3 separate regions of the Homo sapiens genome follow, and regions 2 and 3 are each linked to region 1. The links are contacts of gene promoters, found by promoter capture Hi-C in blood cells and fetal thymus (Javierre and others, 2016). All regions are on one chromosome and are shown on one strand. Each heading gives the region's core, a stretch centred on a gene start or on the middle of the fragment in contact. The rest is flanking DNA. Distances are from core to core; before and after follow the strand shown.

Evidence for each region. The method cuts DNA at HindIII sites, captures the fragments that hold promoters and counts their contacts. A CHiCAGO score of 5 or more calls a contact.
Region 2: a fragment that was not itself captured here is called in contact with the fragment with the promoter of BMP8A in region 1 in 1 of 17 cell types (total CD4 T cells); the score reaches 5.2 in total CD4 T cells.
Region 3: a contact is called between a fragment that was not itself captured here and the fragment with the promoter of BMP8A in region 1, in 1 of 17 cell types (M2 macrophages). The highest score is 5.4, in M2 macrophages.

What each region holds. Positions count from the first base shown.
Region 1 is chr1:39,489,359-39,493,622 of GRCh38, forward strand. It overlaps BMP8A (bone morphogenetic protein 8a), which reads left to right and starts at 2,278. Exons shown (of 7, transcript NM_181809.4): 1 at 2,278-2,967. The coding sequence starts at 2,634. LOC124904101 (a long non-coding RNA gene) reads right to left here and starts at 2,190. Exons shown (of 2, transcript XR_007065978.1): 1 at 1,331-2,190; 2 at 1-769. RefSeq lists silencers at 1,777-2,406, 2,507-2,606. The HindIII fragment of the contact is 20,371 bases long and covers 1-4,264 here.
Region 2 is chr1:39,276,358-39,280,621 of GRCh38, forward strand. The region is part of intron 6 of MACF1 (microtubule actin crosslinking factor 1); the gene reads left to right. Among named protein-coding and RNA genes, the nearest start is that of MACF1, 74 kb to the left of the region's middle. The HindIII fragment of the contact is 172 bases long and covers 1,665-1,836 here.
Region 3 is chr1:39,329,543-39,333,806 of GRCh38, forward strand. It overlaps MACF1 (microtubule actin crosslinking factor 1), which reads left to right. Exons shown (of 101, transcript NM_001394062.1): 37 at 1,661-4,264. Among named protein-coding and RNA genes, the nearest start is that of MACF1, 130 kb to the left of the region's middle. The HindIII fragment of the contact is 4,223 bases long and covers 1-4,016 here.

The sequences.
Region 1 (4,264 bases), core at 1,028-3,527:
GGGCAGGGGGCTTGTCTGCTCCATCTCTGGTTCAGGGCACAGCACAGAGCAGCTCACGGTGGTTGTTGCTGAACTGAAGCGTGGGCAGAGGCCCTTGGAATGGCTAAAATCTGCTGTTTAGGTTTATGGGAATGTGAAGCCCGTTGTTTAGAAAACACAGCTCTATCTCCACATCCTAAATTGAGAAATGATTTCTGTTATAAGAATCAGCCCAGCACTGGGCAGCTTGCAGTCTAGCTGGGAGCCCAGAATTGCACAAAACAAACCTGAGAATTGTACAGGCTGGATCTAGGGCCTCAAGTGATGTGCAGTGGATTCAAAAGGGGCGTGCAGAGAGGACAGTGAAGGGGGTGTGGGCAGGAGATTCCGAGACTCTGACCAAGATGACATGGGGACAAAGCCCTGTGGATTCAGCCTCCTAAACAGCTTTCTCCTCTGCCCCTCCACCCCATCACCATTAGAGACTCATGGTCATTGTACCCACCCCCACATCTGATTGCTGTACCTGCCTCCAACTGCAGGGCCCTGACTCCTGTCTCCCTCTGATCCATATTCCGCTCTGCTTCCAAGCTCTGGTCTTGGGTACTTTCAACGGTTATTCTGCATTATCCTTAGCTCAGTATCCTTATGGGACAGTCCCAGTCCGCAGGGTAGCCCCGGCTTCTAGGCGGTGGCATCCACATCTGCTCTGCCCGGAGCTGATGCAGGTGCCTCATGGGGGGCGCTCTGGGGACCGCGCAGAAAATTTACGAGCAGTGTGGAAATATACCTGTTGGGTAAAAGACAAACTAGGCGTGTGTTTAAGGCACCAGCAAATGACTATTTAGATTAAGAATTTGTTGTAGAAAATTTTATTGAAGTGATGACTTCCAAATGTGATTTTTGGGGGCATTATACACTTGCTTCGAGGTTTAATCTTCAATCCACATGGCGGGGCACCATAATCTCTGGTGCCCAGGGCCCTCGTCTAGCCCCTGTGAGGCCCTTTGCGGTGCCTCCCTTGCCAGCCCCTCCAGCCTCCGCCGTTTGCCCCCTGGGCTCTCCAGTTTCCACTGCCCCCCTGCCCGAGCGCAGCTCCACTGCTGTGTGACCTGGCGTAAGTCCCTTAACCGCCGTGTGCCTCAGTTTCCTCATTTATTAAAAGAGGAGGTTCCAGTGGTATGTACCCCCTAACGATGTGCGAGCATCACAGAAATGACACGAGACACACACTCAGAACATGCCTTGGCGTGGCAAGTGCTGACTGTTGCCATTATTAGGCTCCCCAGCCGGGGTCTCAGGGCCTTGGCACAAGCTATTCCCTCTGCCTGGAGCACTTTCCTCCACTGACCTTTCCTGGCGCTCCAGGTCAACTCCAGGAGCCTTCCCAGTGCAGTCTAGGTGCCTTCTCCTTCCGCAGCGCCTGAACCACACAGGAATAAGTAAGGCGAGAGCGCGCCCAGGGAAGAGCAGGTGTGCAGAAAGGGACTGAGTCAGTCGAGACGTTTCCGCGGGGATCCTTCTCTTGGCAGGCCTGCACCGGGGCCGTGGGGACTGAGAAGATGTGCACAGGTGGCTCCCGAGTGCTCGGGAAGGGCCCCAGAGCTTCTGGCCCAGCTGGAGGCAGGAGGCGGAGCCTCCTCCGCAAAGCTGGATCAGTACCGGGGACGCAGGGCGCACAGCTAGGGCTGGCGGGGGCGGCCCGACTGGGGCGCTGCCTGGGCTCACGCGGGAGCCAGGTGGGGGACGCAGGGAGAAGCAGCCGAGCAGGTGCCGAGAAGGAGGCGCCCGCAGAAGCGCATGCAGGGGCCACGGGGAAGGCGCCAGGAGGCGGTGAGGGGCCGCGGTGGCCGGAACCCGGGCCGGCTGCTGCGGGCAGAGGAACAGGCCCCACCCGCGGGGCTTGGCTGGCACCGCCCGGCTCTCCAGACGGGGCTACGGCCGCGTGTCGGGCCCGGTGGCGACCACGGCACACCACGGCGAGGCAGCCGGGTGGCACCACTGGCGGGACCGGGACGGCGCCGCGGCCTTAGGATCTCTGCGCCGAGGCCCGCGGCGGGAGCCACGACGGCCCTGACCACGCTGACGCCCAGGCTGCGGGCTCCTCGCCCGGACCAACCGCCAGCCACGCCGAGGTCGCACCTCGGGGTCGCCCCACCCGCAACACCTGCCGCCGCCCGGGGCTCCTAGCGGGCGCGGCCTCCGCGCCCAGGCCCCGCCCCCGCGCCCCCATTGGTCAGTCCCGGGGGTGGGCGGGCGGCACAGACGGCTGAGCCGGGGCAAGGACTCGCGGGAATCGCGCCGCCCGGGTCGCTGCCGGAGCTCGCCGGTCGCCCCTGCGCTGCGCGGACCGCAGCCACAGCCGGACTGGTGGGAACGGCGGCGACAGACGGATTGGCTGACAGTCCCAGCCCTCAGAACAGCCCCGGCCTCGAAGCGTTGGCGTCTGCGTCCGCGTCAGCGTCCGCTTGTCCCGGAGCCGGGGCAGGTGCGCGCGGGGGGCGCTCCAGGGACCGCGCTGAGGCCGCAGACGCCGCCCGCCGAGCCCCGCCCCCTGCTCGCCGAACTCAGCTCCCCGTTCGCCGTCGGGGCGTCCCCGGGCCCAGGGGCGGCGGCGGAGCTGATGTGCGCCCGCTGAGCGCCCCCGGCCCGCCATGGCCGCGCGCCCCGGACCGCTCTGGCTTCTGGGCCTGACGTTGTGCGCGCTGGGCGGGGGCGGCCCCGGCCTGCGACCCCCGCCCGGCTGTCCCCAGCGACGTCTGGGCGCGCGCGAGCGCCGGGACGTGCAGCGCGAGATCCTGGCGGTGCTCGGGCTACCCGGGCGGCCCCGGCCCCGCGCGCCACCCGCCGCCTCCCGGCTGCCCGCGTCCGCGCCGCTCTTCATGCTGGACCTGTACCACGCCATGGCTGGCGACGACGACGAGGACGGCGCGCCCGCGGAGCAGCGCCTGGGCCGCGCCGACCTGGTCATGAGCTTCGTCAACATGGGTGAGTGCGGCCGCCCGCGCGGGGACCCTCGGAGTAAGCTGGCTGCAGGGGAGGGGCGCGCATCCGCGGGCGGTGCCGGGCCCTGGCCGAACGGGGAATCACAGACGGTGGACGCGAACCACAGGGGAGTGGGACCGCCGTGGTTAGGGAAGGTCTAAGGGTCATGGGGGCCCCCTGGGCTGCGGGGTGGTCAGGAGCAGAGTGTGGGGGACTGTGGACTCCCAGGCGCTGCCTTCACCCTGCCCCAGACACACCCAGGAGTAAGAATTAGGTGATGTCTTTGCCCACCTGGGCTGCCCCGGGAAGACAGCCTGGTCCTGGGGAGACAGGTGAGTAAACAGAGGCCGGGATGCTGTCACTGTGATAAGGACAGTACTGAGGAGAGGGACAAAGTTCAGCGTGGAAACCTGTGGTCACATCATCGGAGTGACCAGAGCTGAGTCGCGTGCCCTGAGTCCACAGCAGGCTCTTCCCTGTGCGGAGCCTGGGTGGGGTGCGGCTGTCAGGGGAGCGGCTGGGGAAGGAGCAGACTCAGCTCGCTGGGGCAGGGACTGTGGCCTTGTCACCCTGGGCCCTGCACTTAGCATGTGGCCTGGTATAGGGTGAGTGTCCGGTCCTGTGGAATGGCCCAGTGGGCAGCTGGACCCACTGTGTTCTCCCAGGCAAAGCCGGGCTTTTCCTGTCTGCAAACATCTTGTATCAAACCCTGGAGCTATTTATTCCTTAAGATCTCAGATTTTTCTTTTCCAGTACTAAACTCTTTGGTCTATGCTCGTGTAGTTACTGTTGGTCAGGTCCCCCGTCTGCTTTGCCTCCTGTCTGTGGCTAGTGACAGGCCGGGGTCTGGGAGCCAAGGACCACAGCTCAGCCCGAAGTGGGGGAGCTGTGGGGCTGAGAGCAGGGAGTGGGTACCTGCCCCAGCCACCAGCCTCCCTCCACAGACAGCATCATTAATTCTTCATCCTCCCGACAACCCTGATAACAGCCACGGTCTTCATCCCCATCTCCCAGATGAGGACAGTGAGGTTCAGAGAGGCAGCGCCATGCCTAGGACAGCGCAGCCTCTATGTTGCTGAGCCAGGACAGGCCCAGGAAGCCTGACTGTCCATCCAGGGCTCAATGAGATGACATTTCTGTTGTCAGGTCAGGCTTTCAGGGTGCAGAGAGCTTTCTGAGGAGTCTGGGCTGAGGAACACAGGGTACTGAGCTGCAGCAGGTCTTGTGGGGCCATCAGCCATTTGCTTCCTACACTAGAGCAGAAGAGGGCATGGCCAAGCCTCTGCTTCCCGCAACCCAG
Region 2 (4,264 bases), core at 501-3,000, 210 kb before region 1:
AAGTCCAAACTCCTCAGCTGGGATAAGATAAGATACCAAGTCGAAACTCCTCAGCTGGGATAAAGATAAGATAGATTACCAGTTCCTTTGTAATCTATCTTATCTTTTCTATCGGTTCCCAATTTAAACCTTCTCATTTTAACAGATCAGTCCCTTAACTACTATTTCTGTTTCACCTTATCTCAGTTTGTTTACATCCACTTTCTACGTGGAATTCCTTTCTTCCTTGGCTTTCACCTGTTCTGTAACACCCTTCAAGGATGAGTTTATATGGTACTTCTAGAAATCCTCCAGCCCACAGTAATTTTCCATTCTGCTGAGATTCTGTATTGGATATTACTATAATTATTGGTCGTTTTTGGCTATAAATTTGTTTAACTATTTCATGTGACCTACCATAGATATGAGATTTTTTTCGTCCAGAAATTAACCTTCAGAAAAGAGATATTCTCTTTATATTTTACTTCTTATAAAGCATTTCTTGTTATTAGGCTTCCAGGGAGCTTATAGTCAGTTCATGAAAAAGGGTGAATAAATCTATGTCACCATCTGCTAGTTCAATCACTATCATTTTTTTGTAGAGATCAACTGACATAATTGATTAAACAAAAAAGAGGAATGAAAAATCTAAGAAAGTTTTAGTTATTGTTCCTGGGAATATAATCTCCTAATTTGAAGTGTTGAAAGTAATTGTATACAAGCCTTAACATTAAAATTTTTTTTTGAATCACTCACATTGCATATGAAACATACACATACATTATGGGGATCACAAATAAACACAGCAGAATGAATGAAAAAAAAAAAAAACCCTAATCCAGTGTTATGTAACTGGACTCTTGTGGTTTGAAATGAAATACCCAGAGACAATGTAGATTCAGAAAAGTGCTGTTATTAACTTTAAAATCTTAGAAAAGTAGACAGTATTTTCTAGAAAATTCACTAAAAAGATAGCTTTATTGAAGGAAAAAACATTGATGTTAAAGATGCATGTGAAGTTTGAATAATACAGTTTTTTGAAATTACAAAGGCAGAAAATACATTAATACTAAATGCTTAAATATACTGCTTAATTTTAAATATGTGTATATGTGTAAATAAATTTCTAAAAGTTTGGGTATTCAGGAGGACTACAGAGCTTCCCTTCCTGTATTCCTGTTTTACCTTCATACATCTGTTGTTATCTGGGAAAATATTTGGGATAATCATATGTTAGTTATGGCATGTCTCAACTAAGTTCTTGCAGGCCAAGCATGTCTTCTTTTTTTGTTTTCCACCTTTTTACCTGGCCAACTTCTACTTATTAAAACTCAGCACAGATGTTGTTGTTGCTGAGCAATCCTCTGGCATTGCTAGTTTGGATTACTTGCTTACCTCTGTCACAACATTGATCTCTTTGTATAGTAAATTGTCTCCCTGATTAAATTGCTTGAACTTGAGGCCTGAGGCTGTGTTTTTTTATTTTGAGATATCAAGAATTTAAGCACAGCTCCTAGAATATAATGGTTGCTCAAAAAATATTAACAGTATAAGTAAGTGGTGTGTCTTTTCTTGTTCTTCTCCATGGTGCCAGTCATAGTGCTAAGATGTTGTTCAGTCAATACTTATTGAATTATTAGGAAAACATTCAGCTTCTGGGAATACTTCAGAGAAGCAATTAACCAAGCTTTGGGAAGTGTGAGATGAAAGGAAATTCAAGTGGAATTTGCATATTCTCAGGCATACTGTTGAGGCTGTTCTCCCTCTCCAAATGGCTTCCTCCTTAAAAAGCCCAGATGAGGGAGAAAGATCTCTGAAACTAAAGCTGGATTTCTGCATTTGGGAGATTAAGGTAAAAGCTTCTGCATAGCCCAGAGCACAGTACTGTGCACACATATCATGTGTGAGTATACAGAAAGAGATTGATGAAAGCCAAATTTAATTACTGAGATGGTTGTGATGATAATCCCATTTTTCTCATCCAGTTTCCAGTCTAGGTAATGGCCCTAATCCAAACAGGTATTTTATTTTTCTTTCCCTTAGGGATCCAAACATCTATCTCATTACAACTATGTTTAAAATCTGAAGTAAAGCTGTTCATTGAAGTAGTTTTAGTGCAATATACAGAAATACTAAGAAATGAGAGATGTTATTAGAAAGATTATGGCTGTAATGAACATACAATATCAATTAACTAACTGGAATTTCATTTTTGGGTGAAGAACCCAAATACTCAGATTTTGTTTTGCTTATTCAAGTTCTGTCTTGTTTTACATCAACAAATCTATTTCCTGTTCCCAATAATGTTTTACTTTAATATGTACGTGAAGCAGCTACAGTGAAGGCAGTGGGATATATCAATGTTGCATTTAGCCAGTGAAATAGGTAGCTAGAAATGTTAAGGGGAACTGAAATAGAATTGGTACTAGGAAGAAGCTGTTTATAGGAAGAGCCGTGATCCATTATTGTGTCCTTGGCTCTGCAGCTCCATAGCTTCTCTCCCCACTACCGCCCCTCCCCCAGCCCCAGGTAGATCTGGAGTTGATTAATAGTTTTAGTAAACTGACTCACACTGATCACATTTGCTTGAGATTGGTCTATGTGAATTTATTAATTTACAAAATAAATTTTAACTGCCAAGTGATTCAAGAATTTGAATTGGCCACTTACTGCTTTTGTTGCTTTAGAATATCTATATGGGAAGCAAATAATAATCTGAAGGTTGTCAGGTGAACATGCAGTCAGAGCAGAGAGGTGGTGAGTAGAGGAATGATTTGTAGGATGGGCTTATTAGCTGGCATCATCAAAGTAGAATAGTCTGATTTCTTCTGTAGAAATGTACCTGTCAAGGGCATAAGATCCTATGTCCCTTGAATCTGCTGGGTAGGGTACAGTTTCACCTTCACAGGCATGGAGGCAGTACTTCCTGGCTTCCCTTTTCTGTACTCAATGCAAGCTTCCCATACTCTTCTATTCTCACGGTCTTTCTTCAGACATCTTAGTAATATTTAGTAGCCTGCAGCTTTCTTTTATTCTAAATATAGTGTTAAAGTTCCTGGCCCTTTTTTTTTTCCAATTTTAAAATATCATCTGATATTTAATCTCATCTATTATGAGTTTGTAAATTCAGACACTTGGAGATGACTTATTATTGACTTCTCCCTTGTATTGATCACAAGGGAAGCTACTACTTTCATGGTACTGCACCTGATAGAGACGACTAAGAGACAGGATGTTCTATTGACATGCCGGTGTTTTCTCTGCCCCAACACCCAGACCAAAAATTGTGTTGGGTATGCTGTCTTATTATTATGGGAAGGGAATACATGTACCCTCGGCACTATCTACATCATCTTATTTAATCCTTATAATGATCCTTTGAGAAAGTTATTATCCTATTTTAAATATGGGGAAAATTGGGCCAGGAGGCTTACATGGTTTGCCTGAGGTCACATTTCTAGTAAATGCCTTCTTTCAAACACATATCTGTCTGAATGAAAGGCTTAACATTTTTCCTTGTTAACAAGGATTGTTTTTATACTTTTTATTATAAAAATAAAGTGTGGTCATTACTCGAAGTCTGAAAAAAAGAAGAGTAGGAAGAAAAACTAAAGTCATTCATAGTCCCACTCCAGAGGAGACAAATATAAACTTGTTTACTTTACACAGTGCTTTGAATTAGCTAAGTAACCTGTCTACAGATTCTAGGTGGGCTTTATGCCAGAATACTTTTTTTTTTTGAGACAGAGTCCCGCTCTGTCACCTAGGCGGGAGTGGTCTCGAACTCCTGACCTCAGGTGATCCACCTGCCTCGGCCTCCCAAAATGTTGGGATTATAGGTGTGAGCCACTGTGCCCAGCCCCCAAAATACTTTTATTTGCTTATTTTTATTATTTCATTTTATTTTTATTATTTCATTCATAAACCAAGTTATTATTAATTAAAACATGTTAAGGTCCCACCATACAACCAGCACAACACTAAGTGCAATGGGCAATGCACCAAAGGACTGTGATCAATGATTCTCAGATTTGGAAGTTATTTCGTTCACAGCATCTTAGTTTCTGCTTGACACGTCCAGTGGCGAGGAGCTCTCCCACATAGGGTTTGCTGTTCAGTTTTATATTGCTCTGGTTGTTAAGATGTGGTGCCAGCCCCCCTCAGGAAACGTGCAGTCTAGGGGAGATAAGATTAAATATATGAAATAATAGTCCATAATGCAAAATAACATTTATTTATTTATTTATTTTTATGTTTTTGAGACAGAGTCTCACTCTGTCGCCCA
Region 3 (4,264 bases), core at 655-3,154, 160 kb before region 1:
ATTGGAAATTGCTTCCACAAGATCCTCTATCAATAAGATAGAGAGTTAAATAAGTAATCAGAAAGTAGCACTGACCAAAGAGGGACAGATAAAATTATATACAGAAAATGAAAATAATGAACATGAAAAGAAGAGCTGAAAAGTTGGAGAGTAATAAAAATGATGAAGTGTTGTAAGTGGTTAAACACTTAAATAATTTAAAATCTGAATGTATTATTCTGTGATAAAAGATCTCAAAAATGAGAATTCTTTAGGAGCTGTTTCTAGGATTTGCAAGGGTAATTTTGACAGCGTATATGCCTTATTCACTGACCTTCGGACCTAACTCCTGTGTTAAGATGTGACTCTACTGTACTTGTCTTTTACAGTTTTCTGGGTCTGACTCTGGGAGGACAAACAAGATTTAGAATCAGACCTTGATTTGTTTCTGGAACTCACTAGTTTTGTGACCTTGGACAAGTTACCTAAACTCTGTGCCTCATTTTCATTTCTTCAAACTAAAGATTCAAACAATTGTTTTCATAGGATTACTGTGAGAATTAAATGTCAGTGTTCAGTAGATCTAGTAATAAGTGATAGCTGTAGTCATGGTTATTGTACTACCCATTCTAGCCTGGATCAGAAGAAAAGTTACTAGTGGTTCCATAGGCAAGGGTCCCCAATCTGTTTCTTCCTTGACTTGCTACTTCCAAGACCTAGAACTAACTTAATTTAGAGCCATTGCCTTGGGAGAAGCTAGCATTGTCCAAGAATATGAGTATCCCACTTGCTAAATAGTTGCTTGAGTAGTATACACAGGCCTGTTTACTGGGATGCACAATTGTTCTGGAGCTTCTGGGCTGCATAAATCTCTCTTATTCTATGGACCAGTCCTGCTGTGCTCATCAGCAGGGAATTGCTACTTCTAGAGTCTTCTGTGTGGTTTGCAACACCAAAAACTTGTTGTATGGCGTTGAATTCTCACTTTGGGGGAACTGTTACGTGTCTTTAAGAACATTTATGATGATTTAGTCTTAGAAATAAGATTAAATCCTATCATTTTCACTGCTTACCACCCTGTAGAGCTTGTCACTCAGATATGCTTAATGCCACTATCTCTCAAGTAATCTAGGAACTTCTGACCTATTAAACATTCTGCAGTTTAGAAAAACTCTTTTTTAGTCTTAACACCGGGTGGCTTGCTTCAGAATATTTCCTACATGTTGGGGCTTATCCCATGCTGGGTTTTCCTTGTGGTCAGAATTTTATATACTGTAGTACTTTTTTTTTTTTTTTTTGAGACAGAGTCTCGCTCTGTTGCCCAGGCTGGAGTGCAGTGATGCAATCTCAGCTCACTACAACCTCCACCTCCCGGGTTCAAGCCATTCTCCTGCTTCAGCCTCCTGAGTAGCTGGGATTACAGGTGCGCACCACACCCAGCTAATATTTTGTATTTTTAGTAGAGACGGGTTTTTCACCATGTTGGTCAGGCTGGTCTCAGACTCCTGACCTCATGATTTGCCTGCCTTGGGCAGATTATAGGCGTGAGCCACTGTGCCTGGCCTGTATACTATAGTTCTTTGAATGACTCCTTTCAATAGTTGTGCTTTGCCATTGGCTCTGATTCAGTTTTCTTTTTCTTCTCTTTTCCTTTTTTTTTTTTTTTTTTTTTTTTTTTTAGGAATGCAGAGCAGTTGCTGGGGTGATTGACCTAGGCACAGTGGAGATATTTCCCATCTTCAAAGCCATGCAAAAGGGCCTCCTTGACCAAGACACAGGCCTAGTGCTTCTGGAATCTCAGGTTATCATGTCTGGCCTCATTGCCCCTGAGACGGGTGAAAACCTCTCTTTGGAGGAGGGCATAGCCAGAAACCTCATTAATCCCCAGATGTACCAGCAGCTCCGGGAGCTACAGGATGCCCTGGCCTTAATAAGCAGGCTTACTGAGAGCAGAGGCCCTCTTTCTGTGGTGGAAGCAATTGAAAAGAGAATAATCAGTGAGACAGTTGGACTGAAAATCTTAGAAGCTCACCTGGCAACTGGAGGTTTCAGTCTTTCCCCTAGTGAGAACTGTATTAACCTGGAAGAGGCTTTTCATCAAGGCCTCATTTCTGCATGGCTTCATTCAGTATTAGAGTCTTATCTTAGAACATCCAAGAATTTGATAGACCCTAACACAGCTGAGAAAATTGGTTTGCTGGATCTGATGCAGCGATGTATTGTCCACCAGGAATCAGGATTCAAATTACTGCCTGTCAAACAATTGGCAGGGGGGATGGTGAGCTTGAAATCAGGCCGGAAGGTTAGCATTTTCCGTGCAGTTCAGGAAGGGCTAATAGATAGGCAGGTCACTGTCCGGTTGCTGGAAGCTCAGCTTTTTGCTGGTGGCATAGTAGATCCAAGAACAGGACACAGACTTACAGTGGAAGAGGCTGTAAGACATAATCTGATTGACCAAGATATGGCCTGTGCTATCCTCATAAGGCAGCTTCAGACAGGAGGCATCATAGACACTGTCACGGGGCAAAGGCTAACAATAGATGAAGCAGTGAGCAATGATCTAGTAGCTGCTAAGATCGCCCTTGTGATTCTGGAGTCCCTCTGGTCATTCATGGGGTTGCTGTGGCCTGAATCTGGAGAGATCCTCCCAATTACAGATGCCCTAGAACAAGGTATTGTGTCTACTGAACTAGCACATAAAATCCTTAGTAACCGACAGCATATTAAGGCTCTGTTTCTACCAGCAACCACAGAGATTTTGTCCTGGAAGAAAGCAATAGAAAGTGGTATCCTGGATAGAGATCTTGCCAATAACTTAAAATCGATTTGTATACCTGATGTGATGCCCCACATGCAACTAGCAGACTCTGCAGAACAAAATATTAATCCTGGAGCAGCAGTTCTACCGTGCAGCAAGAGCCACCCTAAGGCCACAGCAAGCCAGAGTGAGAATCTGTTGTTCCAGCTGATGACTCACAGCTATATTAATGTGCAAAATGGACAGAGGCTGCTTCTGTTAGATAAAGAGCTGATGGAGACACTAACATCCAGAGATGAGTATCAAACAAGTCCTCCAAAAGTGGTTGAAATTGGGCATCAAAGGCAAAAAACTCCTGAGGGATTGCAAGAATCAGCTAATGTGAAAATCTCAGGAACTTTCAGCAGTGGGTGGACTGTGAGGCTGCCTGAGTTCCAGTTTTCTTCTCAGAACAAAGAATATCCCGATCGGGAAGATTGCACTACAGAAAAAGGCAAAAAGACCACTGTAGAAACAGAAGATTCTTCTGTAGAGAACCCTGAACAGGATCTGTTTGTAGAACAAAAAGAGAGAAATCCAAACATTGATGCTTTGAAGGTAATAAATAAAGTCAAATTAGAGGTACAAAGGCAGTTGATAGGTACCCAAAGGGAAGACCAAACAGCAGTGTCTGTCAGAGAAAATGCCAGCAGGGGACACCTCCTGACCATACCTCCTGCTGAGGCGGAAGGTGTGCCGTTGGTGGTTGACAAAGATGTTTTTTCTGTTGAAACACCAAAGAAAGAACATCAACCTCTAAGAAACACTTCCTTTACATGTCAGAATGAACAAGCACACACTCTTGAGACTGAATATATTCATGATGAAACTGGAGGATCTCACATAAAACCCCAAAGCAAAAAGTTACAAGTTCAGGTAAAGAAAACTCTAGGTATAAAGTTAGAACTAAAGTCTGAAACTGATGGGAATGTTCATCCTCTGGACAAAAAGGAAATGTTAAAGAAAACATTTCTGGCTAAGGATGACCATAAAGAAAGTCAAGAAGCACAGAACATCGCAGGTGGTAGTATGATGATGTCAGAAAAGACCGATGAGGAAGATAGTGGCAGGGAAATTTTTCTGTCATGCAGTCATCCATTAGAATTGCTTGAAGAAGCTACCTTAAATGTATTATCTGCACAGTTACTAGATGGTGGTATCTTTCATGAACAAACAGGTCAAAAGCTCTTACTAAATGAAGCAATATCCCGAGGCATTGTGCCAAGTCACACTGCCGTGAAGCTTATGGAGAAGCTGAACATGTTTCAGGGGTTCTTTGACTCTCAGACTTGTGAGTCTTTGACAACTGAAGAAGTCATTAATGAAGGTCTGATGGATGAGAAATTATTACATAATGTCCTCATGGCAGACAAAGCTATAAGTGGTGTCTTAGACCCCCGTACCCAGACACTGTGCTCTGTAAAGGATGCAGTTACAGTTGGACTTCTTGACAAGGAAACAGCCACCAGAATTTTAGAGAGGCAGGTG